Linked DNA regions of Homo sapiens: region 2 is linked to region 1. Evidence: promoter capture Hi-C in human tissues and cell types (Jung and others, 2019). All regions are on one chromosome and are shown on one strand. The core of a region is centred on a gene start or on the middle of the fragment in contact, and the rest is flanking DNA. Distances in the headings are between cores, read along the strand shown. Region 1 holds the start of ITGA8 (integrin subunit alpha 8). Region 2 overlaps ITGA8 (integrin subunit alpha 8).

Region 1 (5,623 bases), core at 1,353-3,852:
GGCCTGCTTTAAAATACTTTTAAAAATACAAATGATTCGGATATGAATTATTAAAATGGCATTAATTTTGTGTTTAAATGTTTAATTCTTTTGGTTTACGAAGCTTATTCTTAAACTAGAGAGCAGTAGCTAGAAAGTGTCTCAAGTCTTGATAAAATAACTAATTAAAAGATTTCTGTCACAAATTAACATCAAAAGGTTTAATCTTCCTGGTTGCTAATACTCAAATTTAAAAGTAAAAGCTTATAAAAACTGGTATAAAATAACAGAATATTTAATAAAATGATAAGCTATTGTGACCATATATAGACAGGCATGATAAAAATATAATTTTCCAATGCTTTTATAAAATACTTTCCTAATTTGGTCATAATTCAAGGTAATGCTTGTATAGTCTGTTTTGCTTTGAAATATTTTCATATTTATGAAACTGAAATTGTTTTCTCCTTTAACATAAAAGATACAAATTATAGTAACAAGTAAACATCATCCAGCCAATTTCATCGAAATTCTGTGAAAATATTCCGCATAAATTCCATATACGCACTAATCAAACAATTAAAAATCAAAGAAATCAAGTATGTCATAAAATAGTTGTGTGGTACACAAGGTATTTTAAACGATTATTTATCAAGGACCATTGTTCAAGCTGACATATTCGCATTTTTCTGGAAAGAGATATTTGCTTTCTGATAATATATACCTTTTGAATTCATAAAGTTTTGGTGGTAAAAATTAAAGCATTCGGTGTTAATGTTTTTGAAAGCATCGCATTTAAATTATTTTCTCAGGCTCTAAAGAGAAAACACCAGAGGAAACGTAACCAGACTGAATTGTTTAAAATGTATTTTCCCTTTAATTAAATAAGAAACATCTGTCTAGGGATTTTGGAAATGAATGTAATCCATCCACACTCTGCCTGCACTAGTTTGCATTCAATGTCTAATACTTTGAAAGAAAATTCTTTCTTTCTGTAAAGAATTAAACAGCAACGCGGAGTGATGTCTGGGTCTGCAGCAGCTAAGTCCTGCCTCCCGAGCTTGGGCACTGGAAACGCTAAGGATCTCTCTTTTTCCAGATCTGTCCTTGAGAAGCAACCAAATTCTCTCCACAGTCAAAGTTAGGACATAGTTTTTGTATTTCTCCAAAACATCCACTCACCCTGAAAATGCTCATCTCAGAAAGGTAAAGAAACAGGAGTTGCCAGGATGCATCCGAACACTCAGGGTCAAAATAGTGTCCTTTCTCTAGGGTTCACTAAACGTCTTCCTTCAGTTAACTGAGAGTTGAAAAAACTGATTTCTCTAGAGACCCACATAGCCCACAATACGGACATATCAGACAAGCTAAACGAGCAGCACACCAAGACAGCGGGAAGTCGCCTCTGGGATGGCCCTGGTTCTTCCAAACCCAGGCCCACAGCTTAGAAGGACAAATCTCACTTACTGGTGGTGTCAAACGGTATCTGCCTGCACTGCGCAGACCCCTCCGCGGGCCAAGGACAGTAATAGACGGCTCCCCCTTCCACGATATCGGGCTGGCTGGTGTTGGCTTTGGGCGCCCCCACCAAGACACTCGCTCTGCAAAAGAGTTGGAGAAAGTCACTCTTTGGGCGCCACAAAACCGTGCGCATGCAATGCAGTCTCTGTAACCTCCTGCCCGGGGACACTGGGGCAGGCGTGGAGGGCATGAACGTATTTATGATGAGGACCGACTGTCAAACTTGATTTCCTCTTGGAAACGGGGGTCCGCAACCTGGTTTGCAAGAATGCAAACGGTCCTGCTTCTCTAGGTGGAGCTCTGTGGGTACAGTGAGATGAGAGAAGGGGGTGGGGTAGGAGGAAGCCAAGGACAGAGCCCAGCTGCTGGTAGCCGACAGCTCTTGCGCCCAGACGCAATGGTTACAGACTCTGCATAAACAGACCTCGCTGTGGTGGCGGTTTTAACTGGCTTGGGTCTTCTGGGTCCTGTTCTCTCCTTTGTAGGATGCGTGCGTCTTGGTACCTGGAACACCCAGGACTTGCGTGTTCTATGCAAGTGGCATGTCTCTAGCTCAAAATTCACAAGGCACATCTAGCATGGCAGGGGAGAGAAGGGGCTGGTGGCGGGGAGAGGGACGGGACCCCGGGCAGGCGGCAGGACGGGGATCCCAGGCTGCGGGGGGACTCCGCGGCAGAGCCGCTGGGACCTGACCCGGGAGCGCCTTCGTCCCCGCGCGCACCTCCCCGGGTCGGGCGACTTACGTGCGGGCGTCGGGTATGTGGAAGTCCACGGCGTAGCCGAAGTAGCTGCCCTTGGGGCCGCTGTACACTGTGAGCTTTTCCACGTCCAGGTTGAACGCCTGACAGGCGGGGGACCACAGCAACATCCCCAGCGCGGCCGCGGCGCAGCAGAGGGGCGCGATCAGCGGCGCCTGGCTTCCCCGGGGACCGCGGCTGGCCCCGGGCGACATCTCCCTCCGCCCCGGTGGGTGGCTGCTACCCAGGAGCGCGAGCCGAGGACCCCTGCGGGGCAAGGGGGGCTGGTGGAATCTGGCGGTCCCCAGCTGCCCGTGTCCCGGGTCGGTGCGCTCGGCGCACCCGTGGTGACAGTGCCCGGCGTCTGCTCCCACCCGCCCGCCCGCCCAGCCGGCTCGGGGGGCTGGCCCAGGGGCTCTAGCCCTCCTCCGGCCGCGGGCAGGGACCAGCTCTCTCGCGGCGCCTCCTCGCGGCTGGTCTAGAGCCAGGGACTCCCGGGCGGCCCAGCTGGTGGCTGGAGCGCTGGGTGCCTCTTCGGGCTGCCCGGATTTCTATTGCAGTCCCATCTCAAGGACAATCAGTTTCGTCTCTGTCACCTCAAGCTATTTATTGCTTTAGAAGCAATGCCCCAGGTGGAGCGAGAGCTTGCTCCAGTTGTGTCAAAGGCGCAGCTTGGATGGAGAATGTGAAAACCAACCCCACCACCAGGAGGGGCAAAGCAATTATCTCTTCATCACCTCTGCAGCCTGACCTCAGCGTTCACGGCTTTGCACGTCTGTGATGAGAGTTAAAGTTGAAATGCAACAACCCTCTCCTCCCCTAAGTCCACCCCACCTCCTGGCAGAGCTAACTCATATACAAGAAAGCCTCGAGGGTTTTTTTTTGTTTTTGTTGTTGGGTGTCTGTGTGTGTGTGTGTGTGTGCGCGCGCGCCTGTGTGTGTGCATGTGTGAATTTTTTGTTTTTGTTTGTTTGGTTGGTTTGCTTTGTTTTATTTATTTTTTTTTTCTTTTTAGAGATAGGGTCTCTCTCTCGCCCAAGCTGGAGTGCAATGGTGCTATCATAGATCAATGAAATCTCAAACTCCTGGGCTCGAGCGATCCTCCTGCCTCAGCCTCCTGATTAGCTGGTACTGCAGATGACACATCACACCTGGTTAATTTTCTAATTTTTTTTTGTTGACACTGAGTCTGCTCATGTGGCCTAGGCTGGTCTCGATCTCCTGGCCTCAAGCCGTCCTGCCACCTCGAGTTGACTTTTAAAATTTCTTTTCTTTCTTTGTTTCTCTTTCTTTCTCCTTCTTCTTCTTCTTCTTTTTTTTTTTTTTTTTTTTTTTAAGGAGATGGGGGTCTCACCATGTTGTTCAACATGGTCTTGAACTCCTGGACTCAAGCGATCCTCCCACCTAAGCCTCCCACAGTGCTGGGATTTCAGGGTAAGCCGCCTTGCCCAGCCCTTGAGATTTTATTTAAATCTTTCTTAAAGGCATCTTGGGCATATTAAATGACTTAGTAGTAAATCTCCATCCTGTGTAATTGTGATGAAGTTTGGCGCAGTTAAGAATGTTGGAATTTACAGTTTACTTTCTGCGGGGGTAGAAGGTGTAGTTCACAGTCTACAGGAGTTCAGATTTCGGTTCTGATCCGTGGGTGTTGTCAATCTCTTCCCATGTCTCCTGTGTCGGAGAGGACGTGAGGCTTGAGTAGGGGAGGACAGAGAAGAGAAAGGAGTATAGATCCCTTTACATAACATATGGTCATTCGTTAACATTAAACAAAACAGGTCAGCATGAAACCGGAAGGAGCCGAGGTTAAACAGATATGAAGTTTAGAGACAGAAGAGCTAAGTTTTTTCTGAAGCATGTAAGAGGATTTGGTGGCAGATGTACATTTACGTAGGATTTTGAATACGGGGCTTACATTTGGGCACTGTGGGGGGAGAAGTTGAGGGAAGGTATTAATACTTAGAAAAGACAGAGATTAAATGGTTGTGCATGGGATTGGAATAAAAGGGGTGGGTTAGGAAGTGGTGGGAAATAGGGTTGACTGGATCTTCAGGAAGAGGATCTTAATAACAATAACATTTATTGAGGCAAAGGGAGCCAGTTCTAGAGCAGAGACGGGACATACCTTCTGGGGCTCCAAAAGTTTAGGGGTGGGGAGTGGGGGGTAGTTGTTGGAAGGAAGGGAAAGCAAAGTAGGTGTTGCCTAGATGCACTGGGAGGCGAGGACCTCAAGCTGGTTAACAGAAGGGAGGGGAGGGCCACAAATGCTAAAGAAAAGGGACAGGCTGGGCACAGTGGCTCACGCCTGTAATCCCAGCACTTTGGGAGCCCGAGGCGGGAGAATCACAGGGTCAGGAGTTGAGACCAGCCTGACCAACATGGTGAAACTCCGTCTCTACTAAAAAAAAAAAAAAAAAAAAAAAAAAAAAGCTGGGTGTGGTTGCATGTGCCTGTAATCCCAGCTACTCAGGTACTCAGGAGGCTGAGGGAGGAGAATCCCTTGAACCCAGGAAGCGGAGCTTGCAGTCAGCCGAGATTGCAGTCAGCCGAGACTGCACCACTGCACTCCAGTCTGGGCAACAGAGCGAGACTCCATCTCAAAAAAAATTCAAGGTGTCTCAAGGTATTAACCTAGAAAAGAAGAATAGCGAACGGTAGCAGTGGGCTAGGACAGCAGATTGGGGAAGTAGAAGGTGAGTTAGGTGCTGGGCTCACTGATTTGAGTTACTAGCCTGCGATTAGCAATGTAGATGGCAGTTTCGGGAGTGGTCAGTCTGTCCATTGATTTGAGGGTCTATCCAGAGAAAAAAATCTCTGAACTTACTGAAAAGCTGGACTTCTTGTCTCCCTTACATCAGAACCCACTCAGTAGACTGATCTGAATGTTATATCTTTACTTGTCATGCCCCTGTAAAAATAATACAAATAAATAAGCTATCAAAAATTTCCCTGGCAAATTGTCACGTCTGGATAATTTCCTGAGTATTCCTTTCCCAGGTAAAGACTTAGGAGTAGATGGTAGAAGACTTGCTTCTCATTTTAAAAGTTCATTTGCTTTGAACGCAGAGTCTGCTACTCTGATCAAGTTACTATTGTTCATCAAAGTGGTGTTCCCTTCAGTAATTTTCAATGAGGAATTCATGGGCAGCATACAAATAGGAATGCTGACAACTGTGTTGGACACTGAGGTTAGAAAAATAACCTCAACTCAATCATTTCCTGACACTGGCATGCTGAAATTTGGAAATCTGTCCTATTGCAAGCTAGCCTGAGATGGATGAGAACCATCTAAATAGGCAGAAGGTGATAGAATGATCCTAGACATGCACCTGACCTGTGTGCTGACTTACTAGGTGGAACTAGCTATATATTACACAATGCTT
Region 2 (5,623 bases), core at 1,314-3,813, 41 kb before region 1:
GCCTGGCCAACATGGTGAAACCCCGTCTCTACTAAAAATACAAAAATTAGCTGGGCATGGTGGTGGGAACTTGTATTACCAGCTACTCAGGAAGCTGAGGCAGGAGAATTGCTTGAACCTAGGAGGTGGAGGTTGCAGTGGGTCGAGATTGTGCTATTGCACTCCAGCCTGGGCAACAAGAGTGAAACTCTGTCTCAGAAAAAAAACAGAAAACAAATGAGAGTACAAATCGAAATGATGCTTTTGTTCTCACTCATACATGGAAGCTAAAAAAGTTGATCTCATCGAAGTAGAGAGTGGAAAAGTGGTTACTAGAGGCAAGGATGAATAGAGATTCAGGTATAGCCAGAGATGGGTTAATGTACACAAAAGTACAGCCTGGTAGGAGGAATAAGTTCTAACATTCTATAGCACTATAAGGTGAATATAGTTAACAACAATTTATCTCATATTTTTAAATAGCTAGAAGAGATTTAAAATGTTCCCAACACAAATGATCAATGTTTGAGGTGATGGTTATGCTAATTACCCTGATTTGATCATTACACATCATAAGCATGTATGAAAATATCACATGTACCCCATAAATATGTACAATTGTTTTGTCAATTAAAATAAAATATTAAAAGCAAAAAAAAGAAATAACGCTTCATTTGAGAAACTATGAATAAGGATATAAAATTAAGGTAATAGAAAGTAAACATTTAACACTACTTCTGGGTCCATCCTTCTGTTAGTAACAACAAATGTGCTTTTCTTGTCTGCCAACAGAACATACCTTGCCAGTAGAAACTCCCAGGTCCTCCCACAATAAGGTCTCCATTCTACAAAACAGAAACAGCAACAGCAACCATAATTGGAAAAGAAATACTAAACATTTTTAAAGGGTGATAAATTGTTGTTAATAAGCATTGCTCTAACAATTTGTTACACATAAAAAGCAATTTTTAAAAGAGATCCTTCGGAGGCCTGCAGTTCATTTTCTTTCCTCTTTTGTTTTCAATTATTTAGTGTGTTATCATATTAAATAATTTTAATTTGACTCAATTAGGTAAGTTGAACTCTCTCCCTTGAGAGAGATAAATTCTGTTTTTTGGCACTGCCTCATAAGCAAAATATCAACATGTTTAGTGCTGTGCAGTTTTGCAGACATGGTCTTTTGAGCCTTCGTGATAGAAATAAAATTCTGTTCCAATTTATTTCAAGGACATAGTAATGCCTATTTTTTTCCATACATCCCCAGTGCCACCCCCTTCTCAGGAGAAAGAGCAAACACTCCAGACTAGCAAATATAAACATTTTCTCATGAATTGACATCCTCACCTTTCGTGCCTCATATCTTTAACTCTCAGTGGAAAATATAAAAACAAAAAAGTAATGATAAAAAGAATGATAAAAGACAGTAAACAGTTTATACGTTGATGAAATTTTTCTATACTATTTTCAAAACCACAGAATCTTTTCCCTCTACATTCTTACTGAACATCTCTTTTTAATTTTTTGAAAGGATATATGAATTTTAATATTAATATTAAATGTAACTGGTCAATTACAGTTAACAAAACAATGAATAGATTCATGTGATCTTTTTAAGAAACATTACTGAGTTTTTTAGATTTTCATTTAAAAAATTATTGCCACAAAGGATCAGAAGAAAGGCTGTTGCTTTTTATCATGTCTATTTCTCTACTATTTAATAGGCCGCTATGTGCATAAATTATTTACATAAAAATAAAAAGTGAATGGAAAAATTTTTTTAGAAAGCATTTGCCCAAACAGGCTAGGTATGTTCCTCAAGATTCTTTGGTTCTTTGGTGGTGGTGGTGGTTTTGGGGTGTGGGAGTGAGAGGCAGAGGGTAAAAAAAAATCAGATTAAATATTAGGAACTGCGAGACCAAAATAATTCACCTTATAAAAATCCAGACTAAATCCTGCTTGGCAGTAACCCTGGCCTTCCGGATCAGCATTGCCTAGAACGATCAAAATACATAAATGTTATAACGTTATCATTCCTGAAATATTTTTTAATAACCAATTCAGGATATTATGTTATTTTCTCTAGAACCTTCTAAATTAAAAATGATCAATATGTGTTTTATGTTTATTTTTAAAATGTTGTTCAAGTAATTTATTAAACATATTTCTGTCTGTTTTCTTACACCAAATAGCGTTGTGATTCTCTAGTAAGATCAACAGGAATAACATCCCTTTTGGCTACTCTATTGGGTTTTATGACTCACTTTCATTTGAAGAAATAAAATCTCTATCTTTGACTATATTCCAAATTTCCCATGAGGCAATAACGTGTCTCTCTTTTGCCCCCTCGTGCTGTGTGAAGGCAGATAGGTCTGTCATTCCCAAAAGTTGACACCTTGAGGAAGAAGGGGCAGTGCAAGATGACCTTTGTAGATGTCATCTTCTGGGCCACCAATAAGCATTTCCACTGTTACGCTCTTTAAGAGGAACTTAATTTTAAATTATCCTATTATGGCCAGTTGTGGTGGCTCATGCCTGTAATCCCAGCACTTTGGGAGGCCAAGGTGCGCAGATCATGAGGTCAAGAGATTGAGACCATCCTGGCCAACATGGTGAACCCCATCTCCACTAAAACCACAAAAATTAGCTGGGCATGGTGGTGCATGCCTGCAGGCCCAGCTACTTGAGAGGCTGAGGCAGGAGAATCTCTTGAACCCAGGAGGCGGAGGTTGCAGTGAGCCGAGATCATGCCACTGCACTCCAGCCTGGGTGACAGAGCAAGACTCCAACTCAAACAAAATAATAATAAAAACAAATTATCCTATTATAATAGGCTAGGTAAATTGGGAAATTGCATTTCTGGTCACAGTCTCACTGGACATTGCAATGCTAGTGTTCACAAAAGAGAAAATTCTAGTAGTGGCTTATCTTGCTTTCTATCCAATATGATTCACTAACTCATTGTCCAATAGGATCTCATGGTACAGTTGTAAGCTATAGGCAGGCCAACACGTTGATTTCAAGGCTATTGTTATCAAAAGTCTGTAGGGCATTAGGACCAGGAATTTACTACTTGTAACTTGTACTTTAAAAGAGTTTCTACAACTTCTAACATGCCTAAAATAGCCAAAATGTAGTGAATTAAGTAGAGGGAATCTCAATCCTGCATAGTTAGATTTGGACATGTAAATAATTATTTCTTTCTTATCAAGGATATTCCTCAATGGAAACTGAAATAAGAGAACAGGAAAGGAAATACATGTCATCACAGGAAATATTGATGACTGGGCATGCGCCTGTTCAGAAGCTTTTTGAAATGGACCTGGCCTTTCCGGCTTCCCTTAGAATGTCTTCCGGTTTTTTCTTTCCTTTGGTCATTAGTTAGCTAGTTTTAGCGCTGTCACCATCAATTTTTTCCAGATGCTCCTTTTTTTTTTTTTTTTTTTTTTTTTTTTTGAGATGGAGTCTCCCTCTGTTGCCCAGGCTGGAGTGCAGTGGCGCGATCTCAGCTCACTACAAGCTCCGCCTCCCGGGTTCACGCCATTCTCCTGCCTCAGCCTCCCGAGTCCTTTATTTTTAAAAACACTTTTTAACCTCATGCACTGTATTTTAACAAAATTTGTTCCTTATTTTACCGCTATATTTCATGATTTATGGTCATGAATCCTATAAAGTTCCCTAAAAGCTCATCTCTATAATCTGGAATATCTAAGTATCAATTTTCTAGAAGCTCATATGTGTAAATATTTATATGCATCCAGAAGTATATATGAATGCATGAGATATTACTCTGAACATATATGTGTTCATATGTGTTTTTATATTTATTTTTCCATGCACAAGCCTTTTAAAAATCCCTTTTAAATTCAACCCTGACTTTTTATTTTTATGATTGTAAATTATTCGAAAGGGAAGAAACATGACCATTCTTTGAAAGTATTGCTTTAAAACAGCAGGCTGAAAAAAATTAAGAGAAAACATTCATTTTTTTTTTTTTTACAAAATACACTGAGAAAATAATCAGCTCCAAATGTTTATTGTAAGTGGCAATTATAATAGAGTGTGAGGTTCTTTCCATTGCAAAGTCTTTTTTTTTTTCCTTGTTGAATCATAATTTATGAGAGCTGAAGGACTCTTTCTTCCTGGGACTTCAGAGCATTTGTGAACTTGATAATTATGTCCTAGAGTGAACTCAGGAATCCAAGGAAGCATGTGGATAATTTGCTACTATTTGTTGACGTCTTACCCAACAAATGGAAGGGTGTGTGTATGAACCATCTCCACCTGAATTATGAATGACCATGAGAGCCATAGGCAGGTCATCAATATGAATGAGCAGGTAATGTCTAACAATATCAGCAGAGCGGGTTTGCGGTATAAGATTAACATGAGGAGCTTCTTTAAATTCTCTTTTGAAAATAATATTGCTGATGTTTCCTGTTCTGGGATACTGACCATATGCTCATGAACAAGCTGGCTTTGTGTTAATGATCTGTGAACTTCTTGGCCATGACGGGAAGTCTGCTTCTTGGATGATCTGAGGAGGAAGAAGTACCCGTAGGAATAGGGAGACCAGGAGGATGTGAAAACTGTGGCTATACACCACAAAGGAAATAATTCATGGCAATTTATTGAGCTATTCTGCAACTCAACATGTGCTCCATTCTGTCTTTGTTGAGCTGTTAGGCTACTGTGTCCATGTAGCTTAAGATGCAAATGTACATTAGTGTACTTTTTAAAAAAATGGTTCAAACTCACTCTGAAACTTTTCCCCTACAAGTCTGCATTTCATGTGCTGTATTTTGATCTGAGCCCTCACATCCCACACAGGTAGTCTGGCAAAAAGGCAGAACAAGGAGTGACTAGTTTTATAAATATCATCCTTCAAGGCAGTTGGAAGAATAACCTACATTATCAAGGCAAAAGGCATATGAAGGATGGTCTTGTCTTTAGTTACAGTTATTTGCTGTTTGTTGAACAAGCCAGCTTGTCCATGAGCATATGGTCAATATCACAGAACAGGAACATGGGCAAATCATGGAGTATAGGATATGGACAGGTGTAAATATTGATGAAAAGTTCAATAATGAATCTCTCCACTACCATTCATTTTCTGATATATTTTGGATATCCTTTGTTATTGTTTGTGGGATTTTATCTTTAGCATAACAATACTGACCTCTTAATAAACCCAAGAGCACAGCACTTTGAATGGAACATGACACAAACTATGCCTCATGTTGGTTGTTGCCTGAGTCCGGGAAGTTTCTCTCTTCTCTCCTCCAATAATCATTTGCTAGAAGAATCCCTTTCTATCGTCTTGTCTAAAATGCTGCTCCTCCCCTGGCTTCCCCAGCACAGGTCTCTCCCTTCTTTCTCGTCTTGCTGTATTTTTTTGTAGCACTTTTCACTGCCTGACATTGCATCATAAACACATTTATTTACATGTTTACTGTCTAGAGGCAGTTCCTTGAACAGGGGGCTTTTTCCCTCTTGTTCTTTGCTGAATTTCCTAAACATAGAAGAGTTAGTTTACTGCTCAATGTGTGGTTTTTCTTTTTAAAGAAATCCTGCATTGAATAAATAATTGAGTCCCATGAACTACAAAGAACCCCTACTTTAAAGCTATTTAAAATAAAATCCTTAT

What was found. The method cuts DNA at HindIII sites, captures the fragments that hold promoters and counts their contacts. A contact is called where the count stands out against the background at its distance.
Region 2: a fragment that was not itself captured here is called in contact with the fragment with the promoter of ITGA8 in region 1 in 1 of the 25 tissues and cell types used here (aorta).

Annotation. Positions count from the first base shown.
Region 1 is chr10:15,717,320-15,722,942 of GRCh38, forward strand. It overlaps ITGA8 (integrin subunit alpha 8), which reads right to left and starts at 2,603. Exons shown (of 30, transcript NM_003638.3): 1 at 2,244-2,603; 2 at 1,447-1,580. The coding sequence starts at 2,452. The HindIII fragment of the contact is 28,165 bases long and covers 1-5,623 here.
Region 2 is chr10:15,676,814-15,682,436 of GRCh38, forward strand. It overlaps ITGA8 (integrin subunit alpha 8), which reads right to left. Exons shown (of 30, transcript NM_003638.3): 5 at 1,909-1,970; 6 at 779-824. Among named protein-coding and RNA genes, the nearest start is that of ITGA8, 40 kb to the right of the region's middle. RefSeq lists an enhancer at 3,097-3,391. The HindIII fragment of the contact is 5,232 bases long and covers 1-5,179 here.